2 separate regions of the Homo sapiens genome follow, and region 2 is linked to region 1. The links are contacts of gene promoters, found by promoter capture Hi-C in human tissues and cell types (Jung and others, 2019). All regions are on one chromosome and are shown on one strand. The core of a region is centred on a gene start or on the middle of the fragment in contact, and the rest is flanking DNA. Distances in the headings are between cores, read along the strand shown. Region 1 holds the start of NFATC4 (nuclear factor of activated T cells 4). Region 2 overlaps KHNYN (KH and NYN domain containing).

Region 1 (4,066 bases), core at 653-3,152:
ATCTTCGGGGGTCCATGGCCGAGGGGAGGCCCGGGGCGAGGGCAGCGGGGAGCCCAGGCCAAAGCGGGAGGCCGCCTCATTTAGCTCAGACTCCACCTCGTCGCAGGCTGCATACAGGGCTGCCTCGTCAGAGGCATCGGAGAAGAAGCTCCACGAGGACAGGCTGCTGCTGCCAGGGCTTGGGCTGAAGAAGGCCCCCCCACCCTGGCCCCCTGCTTCTCTGTAGCCCCCAAAGCCTTCTGGTGGGGGGTAATCTCTAGGAGAGCCGTCCCCCCAGGCATCAGGGTTGTCCTCCAGCGCTGCTGGCGGCTCCGGCGTGGGAGAGATGGAGGTGATGCGGATGCTGGGACACTCGAGAACACGGCCACCCCCAGCACCCCCAGCACCCCCTCCTGGTCCTCCCAGCCTCACCGACCTGGCGGGCTGGCTCTCCCAGGTGCCAGGTGAGGGGGCTGGTCGCGGCGGTGGCGAATGCATGCCAGGCCGAGGGGGTGGAGGTCGGGGAATACCGATAGGTGCAGCGCCATAGGGAGGGGGCTCTCCCAAGGCCAGACGGCAGCATGGCGGGGCATCCTCTGAGTCCAGTTCTGTCAAAATGGGAAGAGGAGCAGAGGGAGAGGGGGAAAGAGAGAAGCAGGTGAGATGGCTATGTTCCTTGAGTGGCCAGGCCGCAAGTCCTTCTATGCTCCCTGCCCCTCAGCAAAGAGACCTTCTGAGCCACAAGACAAAAGCAGAGTTGGACCTGGGAAGATGGAGGAGATTGAAGCAGGCATGCCAGGCCTTTGCCCACTGGCCCCTGGATCCTAGGACCGAGGGTACCCGATCCAGTGGGTCTTAAGGTGAGAGAGGTGGGTCCAGAGGGGCTGGAGCTGGGGCTGGGCCTGGAGGCGTGTTTCTTGAGGCACTGGGCTGGACTGGGGGCGACTCACACATGAACCCAATTAGCAGCGGTTCCCAAACCCCCAAACGGCGCTGGCAGGAGCCCCAGTTGCCATCGCAACCGTGGCCAGAGGGGAGGGGGGCGTCAGGGCTGTGGTGACGAGGGGAGGTGGCTCCTCCCTCTCTCCTCGCCATCTAGGGGCGGAGGTGCAGCCGAGGGGGTGATGCGTGCTGGGCCCAGCCGGGGGAAGGGGGGCAGCGGGCAGCGCGGATTCGTGCGAGCGGCGGCCGCCGCCCCCGGCTCGGTCCCCGCCATCTGCCTCTCATTGCGGCCAGACGGGGGAGGGGGAGGGGCGCCCCAGCGAGGCCTGACAGCGCCCCCAGCCCCGGGCGTCCAGTCGGCCGGGCCAGAGCTCGGTCCGCCAGGGGCCAGCTCCAGCGCCAAACCTCCCCTTCCCCTGGCGGCGCCTGGTGCTGTTGGGGCCGTAGTTCCCGCCCGCCCCCCAGTTCAGTGACAGGCGGCCCAGCCGGGAGGCGGCGCACAGCCAACAGCACCCCCACCCCCACCCCAGTCACGACCTAAAAAGGAGAAAGTGGTGCCCGGGCCCCCAGCCTCACTTCCGCAGGCCAACGAGTCCCCCCGACTCCCTTCGACCTCTGACTCCCTCACCCCCCACCCTAGGCTCGCTGCCTTAAATTCCCCAGACTCAGGATCCCCGGCCCTCCTCTCACTGACCCCAAGACCCCTTCCCAGCCCAGCACTAACCTTCCCCCAATCCCCCCGCGCCCAGCGGGGGGGCCTCCTTTTCCTCCCCGAACACCAGCTTAAATTCCAGCTCCTCATCCTCGCAGCTGGCCGCCCCCATGGATCCGGCAGGAGCCCCCAGGTCCCGGCCTGGGTGGGAGGGGGGAGTTCAGGAGGCTGCTGTATCTTCACCCGGGTGGCTCCCTCCCTCCCTTTCTCTGAGAAGCCCCCTCCTCCGTCGCTGCCGCCTCCCTCCAGAAGCCCCCTCGTTATTATAGAAACTTTTCCAAACTTTTTTCCCCCAAACTTCTTCAAAGCGGTCCCCCCCCCAGCCTGTCCCTGATTGGCTGCCGGGGATGCTCCAGCCCCTCCTCCAGGGATGAGATGGGAAAACCACGCGCCCCTCGTCCTCCCCCACCCTCCCTCCCTCTGTCCTCTCTTCAGTCCCTCCCCCTCAAAAAAAAAAAAACTGAATTGGAAAACGGTCCTTCAAGAGTGATACTAATGTTGCCTATTGGTCCGCCGTTGTGACAATCATTTCCCGCAGAGAGCCCAGCCCCCACCTCCCCTAGTCTCAGTTCAAGGTTCTGGGTCCGAGAGCCTTAAAGGGGCCACATCCTGGGCCCCCAGGGTAGAGAGCCCACGGAAGACCCTTTTTTAAATTCTGAAGACTGTGTAGATAGCACCTAGCAAGGCAGAACCACTTCTCCTCCCCTTTCCCTCCAAGCCTGAGGCCAGGAGGGTCCTGGGGGCAGAGTGGCACCGAGTTGCTCGGAAGAGGAAAAGGCTATTCTTCCGCCTCCCTTGCCTGGGGCTACTCTGCCCGGGCCTTCTGGAAGTCTTTGCGCTGCCGAATCAGCGCCTCCATCAGCCATTCCTCCAGGACCCCCAAAGATGAAGAACGCTTAGCCAGCCTGGATGCCTCTGGGAGCAGTCCGAGCCAAAGAGGCTTTGAGAACTGTCCCTAGGCCCACAGCCCTTGATGGGCGTAGATCCAGGCCAGGCTTTGCCGCTGCCCTTGTCCCAGCCACCCAGAGGGGCCGTGAATTAGCCTCCACGGGAAGTTGGCAGCCTCCTCCCTAGAACTGTAGTCTGGAATGAATCTCTGACCCGATAGCATCCCACTCCGGCTCTTCTAAAAATCCTTGCCAGGTTTACTAGGGGCCTGAAACCTCCGGACCCTGTGGGTTCCCCTCCTCTTCCCCCTCCTTGGCCCCCCCGCCCCCAACAGGCTGGACACCTGTCACCTGGGCTGGAGGAGGAAGGAAGACCTGGACTGGAGTTTCCGGGAAAGTCAGGCTTGGAGAGGCCTGGGTTGTGTGAGAGGGAGTTAGATGGGAGATTCGTGACTCGGTGGGAGATACTGGCGAGGCTGGCGGGTAGGAGAGATGGGAGGGTGGTTATCATTTTCTCCCACACACACACAGTTTCAACCTCTCTTAGAGGCCGCGTCTCCAGTCTCTAAATCCCTCCGGTTCAGGGCCGCACCCCCAACGCCGCCCCATCCCAGCAACTAAACGGTTAAGCGACGGCCCCAGGTCAGACGTTTACAAACACTCAGAAGCCGGGCGGGGACCGCGCCCGTTACTCTAATGAGAAACAGGCTCTACGGGACTGGGGAAAGAAGGGAGGGCTGGCCCGACGGGCCGGAGCTCCGCAGCGGCCGAGGCGGCTTCCCTCCCTCCCCTCGGTCCTCCCTCGGGCCCGCCCAGGGGACCACCCCCCCAGTCCCCGGGGACCCCAGTGACGTGCGGAGCTGCCCCGGCTCCGAGCCCAGGGCCGCAACACAGGAGGGGCGGGGAGAAGAGCCCAGGCCGGCGGGGAGAGAAGAATGTTCCGAGGCCGAGCGGGGAAGCGGCCTGGTTTGATTTTCTTCTTTCTTTTTTTTTTTTTTCTTTTTTTTTTCTTTTTTTTCCTTTGGTTGGTCTCCTCAGGTTACATTTCCCTTCCAGCTTCATCTCGGAAATAAAGGAAGGAGAAACCCACGGGGAGGGAGGACGAGGAACACCTCGACCCATCAACCAGCCTGTACCTAAGAGGGCAAGGGAGGTGGGAAGCGGAGGCGAGAAAAGCAGGGATAGAGACCCCGAGGCCCAGCCCCTGTTCCCCCAGACTCTGCCCCTCCCCGGCCCCACTCCCCGCAGGCACAGCACATGCAGACGCACACATTCTTTTCAAATGTCATATTTCCTTTGATCCTGGGCAGCGTTTCTCCATGTGTCTGGCTCAGCTCCTGCCCAGCCAACCGCCTTCCCCTCTCACCCCTGTTTGTTTTCCTGGAGAACCCTCCTCCTCCTAGCATCTGGAAGGCCCTGAGGGCTGGCGTCGGCCCTCATTCCCCTGATGACTCTGGCCTCTCCTCCCATGACTCAATTTCCCCTTCATGGGTGTTGGGGGGTAGGGAAGGGAGGAGCAGAGGGGAGAGTGGTTGAGATTGTTCAG
Region 2 (4,066 bases), core at 621-3,120, 68 kb before region 1:
CACCCTGCCCTCCACCCTAGCTCAGCTTGGAGGTGGAGCCAACAGTCTCAGTCTCCGGAACTAATCCCCTCTAGCAGCCCCCACTCCCTACAGAAACCCTGTGCTAAGGCAAAGTTGAGAAGTTAAGGCTGAGCAGAACCTCTTGAGAGCTGGCTGAGGTCCTGACTCGGTAAGATCAGTTCACTTTATGGACCTGTCCCAAAGTGGCTTCCCTGATCCAAAGCACCAACTCAGGGTGCCTCTGGATCAGAGTGAGCAGCAGAGGGACTCTCACAGAAAGGGCTGAGCTGGAGGCGGCTGGAGCTGACAGGGCGGCAGCCACTCAAGCAGGTGAGGCTCAAAAGTTAAGACTGAGCAGGGCCTCAGACAGTTGGTTGATGTCCCGGCAGTATGGCTCCCGCTGCAGGATGAAGTCCACTTTGTGATCCTGACCCCAAAACACCTCCAGCAGCTGCCGCCGGAGCCGCTCTGTTTCCCGGGTCTTCCGAATGCCACCACTACCTTTTTCCTCTTCTCTCCCCTGCTGCTGTTTACCATGTTCTGCAAAGCCCCTGGAAGGATGCTGAGCCTTAGAAGACCCCTGTGTCCTGGGAAGAAACAGACCAAAAAGAGCTGATGAGCATCCTGGGGGGGAAATTAGATCTTAGTGGGCACCCCTCTCGTAATTGTCCTGCCTATTCCTGGCTTTGGGGGAGAAATCCTGAAGTTCCTGAAGCTGACCACTGAGTGGCAGTATCAACCCACTTCTGAAGGGAAGATGGGCCGTTCTTTTAGAAACAGGGTGAACTCTGCCACTATTATGATCTAGTTCTAGTCCTAAATGAATCACTTATGTAATGGTCAGCAGAAGGCATGCTGAATACAACTGGCTGTCAGTATAAGCAACCATTTTCCAAATAACTCCATCAAACATGCTGATTAAGAGAAACAGGAAGCAGGTGTTTCCCTCCCAGCAAGGAGGTTCTATGTCAGGATCCCCTGGGAAGCTTATAAAGGCCAAGGCCAATGCAACTCAAACCACTGCAAAATTAAGCTGGCCCAAACTGAGGTCACACTTCCACCCAAGTCTCTGGGCCTGCTGAGAGAGGGCCAGGGGTGGGGGCTGCCTGTAAGTAGTCTAGGGGATTGATTACCTGGCTGGCTTCTTCAGAAATTCATCCAGGGTGGGGCCGTTTCGCCCCAGTGGGTCATCAGGTACCATGAAGAGGTTTCCCACAAAGGTAAAGGGCAGCAGGCTGGATGGCGAAAGATAATGTGTGGTCACAGAGGGGGCCCTTGCCCACCTCCCAGACAACCGAGACCAGTATCACCAGAAGCTGCTGGCTCCATCCTTCAAGAAAACTTCACCTCCTTCCCAGAGTTTTCACCCCATGGCCAGAGCAGAGCTGGCTTTAGAAAAACATCTGCATCTGTGCCCAGTTCTCAGCGGGAGGGCTCCCTCACCGTTCTCTGATGATTGCCATCCACTTCTCAGACTCCTCCGCCAGGTCCCGGAACTGGTCATTGGAGACAATTATCCCATCTGTCTCTTCAGCCAGCTTCACCATGAACCTGTCTCCAAAACCACAGCAACCGAGAGAGGGTTGAAAAATTACCTACTGGGTACAATGTTCACTGTTTGGATCATGGTTACATTAAAAGCCTAGACTTCACCACTATGCAATATATCTATGTAGCAAAACTGTATTGGTATCCCCCAAATCTACAAAAATAAAAGTAAAAACCACAGCAACCATTTGGGACTCTCCAAGGCCCCAACCCCAGAAGTTTTACTGTCTCCCATAGGCCACTTCTGGTGATGGAGATCTGGCCCCCTACCTCACCTTGACCCAGCTACAGGCAACTGACTAGATGCAAGTGCCATGGCCTAGAGAGGAAACAAAGATGAATCCAAGGTGGTCTCCCAGTAGCATCCTATCTGCCAACCATAGTCCTTCACCCAACACTTTGTGCCTCGTTAGTAAACAGTAAGATCTAGCTCTGTCTTCCACCCTGCCCAACCAATCCCTTGCAAATCCAACATGCCTTTCCTTTGAAAAGCCTTGTGCTCTGCTCCCTTCCTTCCCAGGCCCACCATTACCACCCCAGTAATTCAGATATTGCAACTGAGATTATGCATAACCTCCTAACAAGGGGGTCCCCGCCTCTGACCACTCACCCACCCTCCAGTCTCCCCTGCCCTGCCCCAAGAAAGCATGCTTATCACCTACACAAAACTCTTCCACACTTGCCCTTTATTTACCAAATAAAGTCCACACACCCAGGCCTGGCAGCTAAGGCCTTCTACAGGCCAGCTCAAATCACCCTTACAGCCTTATCTCTCCCAATATTCCCTAACCCACTCTCAACTCCAGCTAAAATCAATAATCAGATTACACTCTGCTCTCCACATATGTCTTATGCTGACTTCCATATTTCTCCAACTATTTCCTCTATCTGGAAGGCACTTCCCAAGACTTGCTAAGGAACAGAATTACCAAGGGAACTTTTTTAAAAAATGCCTGGGCTCCATTCAGTAATTCTGATTCCACAAGACAGGGTAGGACTCATGAAGTGATGGGTGGTGGTCTTTTTAACAGATTTAGAAACAGAGATCCAACCCATCCCAGTCTTCTCAACACAAAAACTCACAAATCTCTCCTTTCCCACAAAACCCCAGCCAGAATGGGGCTCCTTTCCCTCTGAGTTCCTGTAGTGTTTGATTTATGGTTTCTTTCGGCTCTCTAGTCAAGAATCAGATCTTGTTCCCAGTGTTCCCACCTCCTCCTGCAGGCCATGCACCTAGTACTAAGTGAGCAGTCAGTATTTGAAAGATAGTGTGGTATAGGGGGAACTGGGAGTCAGGATTAGGTGTGACAGATATCAGGCTCTGAGCTTCTGTCTGGGAAACAAATTAAGGGAATGACATACAAATGTCTATGGCCGGGCTTGGTGGCTCACGCCTGTAATCCCAGCACTTTGGGAGGCTGAGGTGGGCGGATCATGAGGTCAGGAAATCAAGACCACCCTGGCCAACATGGTGAAACCCCATCTCTACTAAAATGCAAAAAGTTAGCTGGGCACGGTGGCATGCACCTGAAGTCCCAGCTACTCGGGAGGCTGAGGTAAGGGAATCACTTGAACCTGGGAGGCAGAGGTTGCAGTGAGCCGAGATCGTGCCACTGCACTCCAGCGTGGCGACAGAGCAAGGCTCCGTCTCAAAAACAAACCAAAAAAAAATTATATGGTACACTTATGGTATGCAAATGGTATTTTCCAGTTAAGCATATTTTACTATGATCGCATTACACAGTATGTTGTTCAGCAACATTCATTCCGTATGCCTACGCTGTGTACCACTGTGCTTATTCACTGTTACTGGGCGAATTCCCAATTTATATTATGTTATCTGCCAACCAGGTCCCACACAACTGGGCAGACACATGCCTTTAACATTCATTAAAACGAACTCAATCTTCAGTTTCAATTCTGTTTCAATGCAGGTGTGGAAAGAAGATTCCATATCTTGGGTAATCTGTGACATCTAGATATAAATAGAATAACATTGGGAGAACGTAAACTGCTTTTTTGTAGAATACCATTTGCTTGTTAAGGAATAGAAGGTAAGTGTTTGAAAAGACAAAGTATATAATCACTATGGTTTGGAAAAACTAATTTTTAAAAACTGTATAATGTCCTAGAGAATAAAGAACTTGTAAATTTTTTAACTTGGCTTTCTAAAATCTGCTCATTTCTCACACCACCTAGGCAGACTATGGTAGAAGTGTGCCTTGTATTTTCATTCAAACCATCTGGCAGCTTTGAGGTCTAATTCCCCTTTGCTAAGACAGGTAACCACTCTGACCCTCTGTCTCCACGACTGTAGATTGGAGATATACCCGCTGCCACACTTGAGTAGGTCTGTGCAAAGTTAGGATGGAATGTCACTGTACTCTTGCCTAGCACCTTGAGCAAGGCAAGCACATACCTTATCTTTTTCGTATATTCACAAGGAGGGTAAATGAATGGAGGAGGACCCTGAGACAAAGAGGTTAATTCACTAAGAAAAGTTCCACAGTCAAAGTCA

Evidence for each region. Contacts are between HindIII fragments. The study calls those that stand out against the background at their distance.
Region 2: a fragment that was not itself captured here is called in contact with the fragment with the promoter of NFATC4 in region 1 in 11 of the 25 tissues and cell types used here (H1 embryonic stem cells, IMR-90 fibroblasts, aorta and 8 more).

The regions. Positions count from the first base shown.
Region 1 is chr14:24,366,020-24,370,085 of GRCh38, reverse strand. NFATC4 (nuclear factor of activated T cells 4) reads right to left here and starts at 1,902. Exons shown (of 10, transcript NM_004554.5): 1 at 1,646-1,902; 2 at 1-587. The coding sequence starts at 1,745. LOC124903291 (a long non-coding RNA gene) reads left to right here and starts at 701. Exons shown (of 2, transcript XR_007064085.1): 1 at 701-839; 2 at 3,559-4,066. RefSeq lists an enhancer at 1-101 and silencers at 1,064-1,443, 3,162-3,471. The HindIII fragment of the contact is 13,574 bases long and covers 222-4,066 here.
Region 2 is chr14:24,433,557-24,437,622 of GRCh38, reverse strand. KHNYN (KH and NYN domain containing) reads right to left here. Exons shown (of 8, transcript NM_015299.3): 6 at 1,444-1,551; 7 at 1,134-1,235; 8 at 1-587. The coding sequence ends at 338. Among named protein-coding and RNA genes, the nearest start is that of KHNYN, 5.6 kb to the right of the region's middle. The HindIII fragment of the contact is 4,482 bases long and covers 1-4,066 here.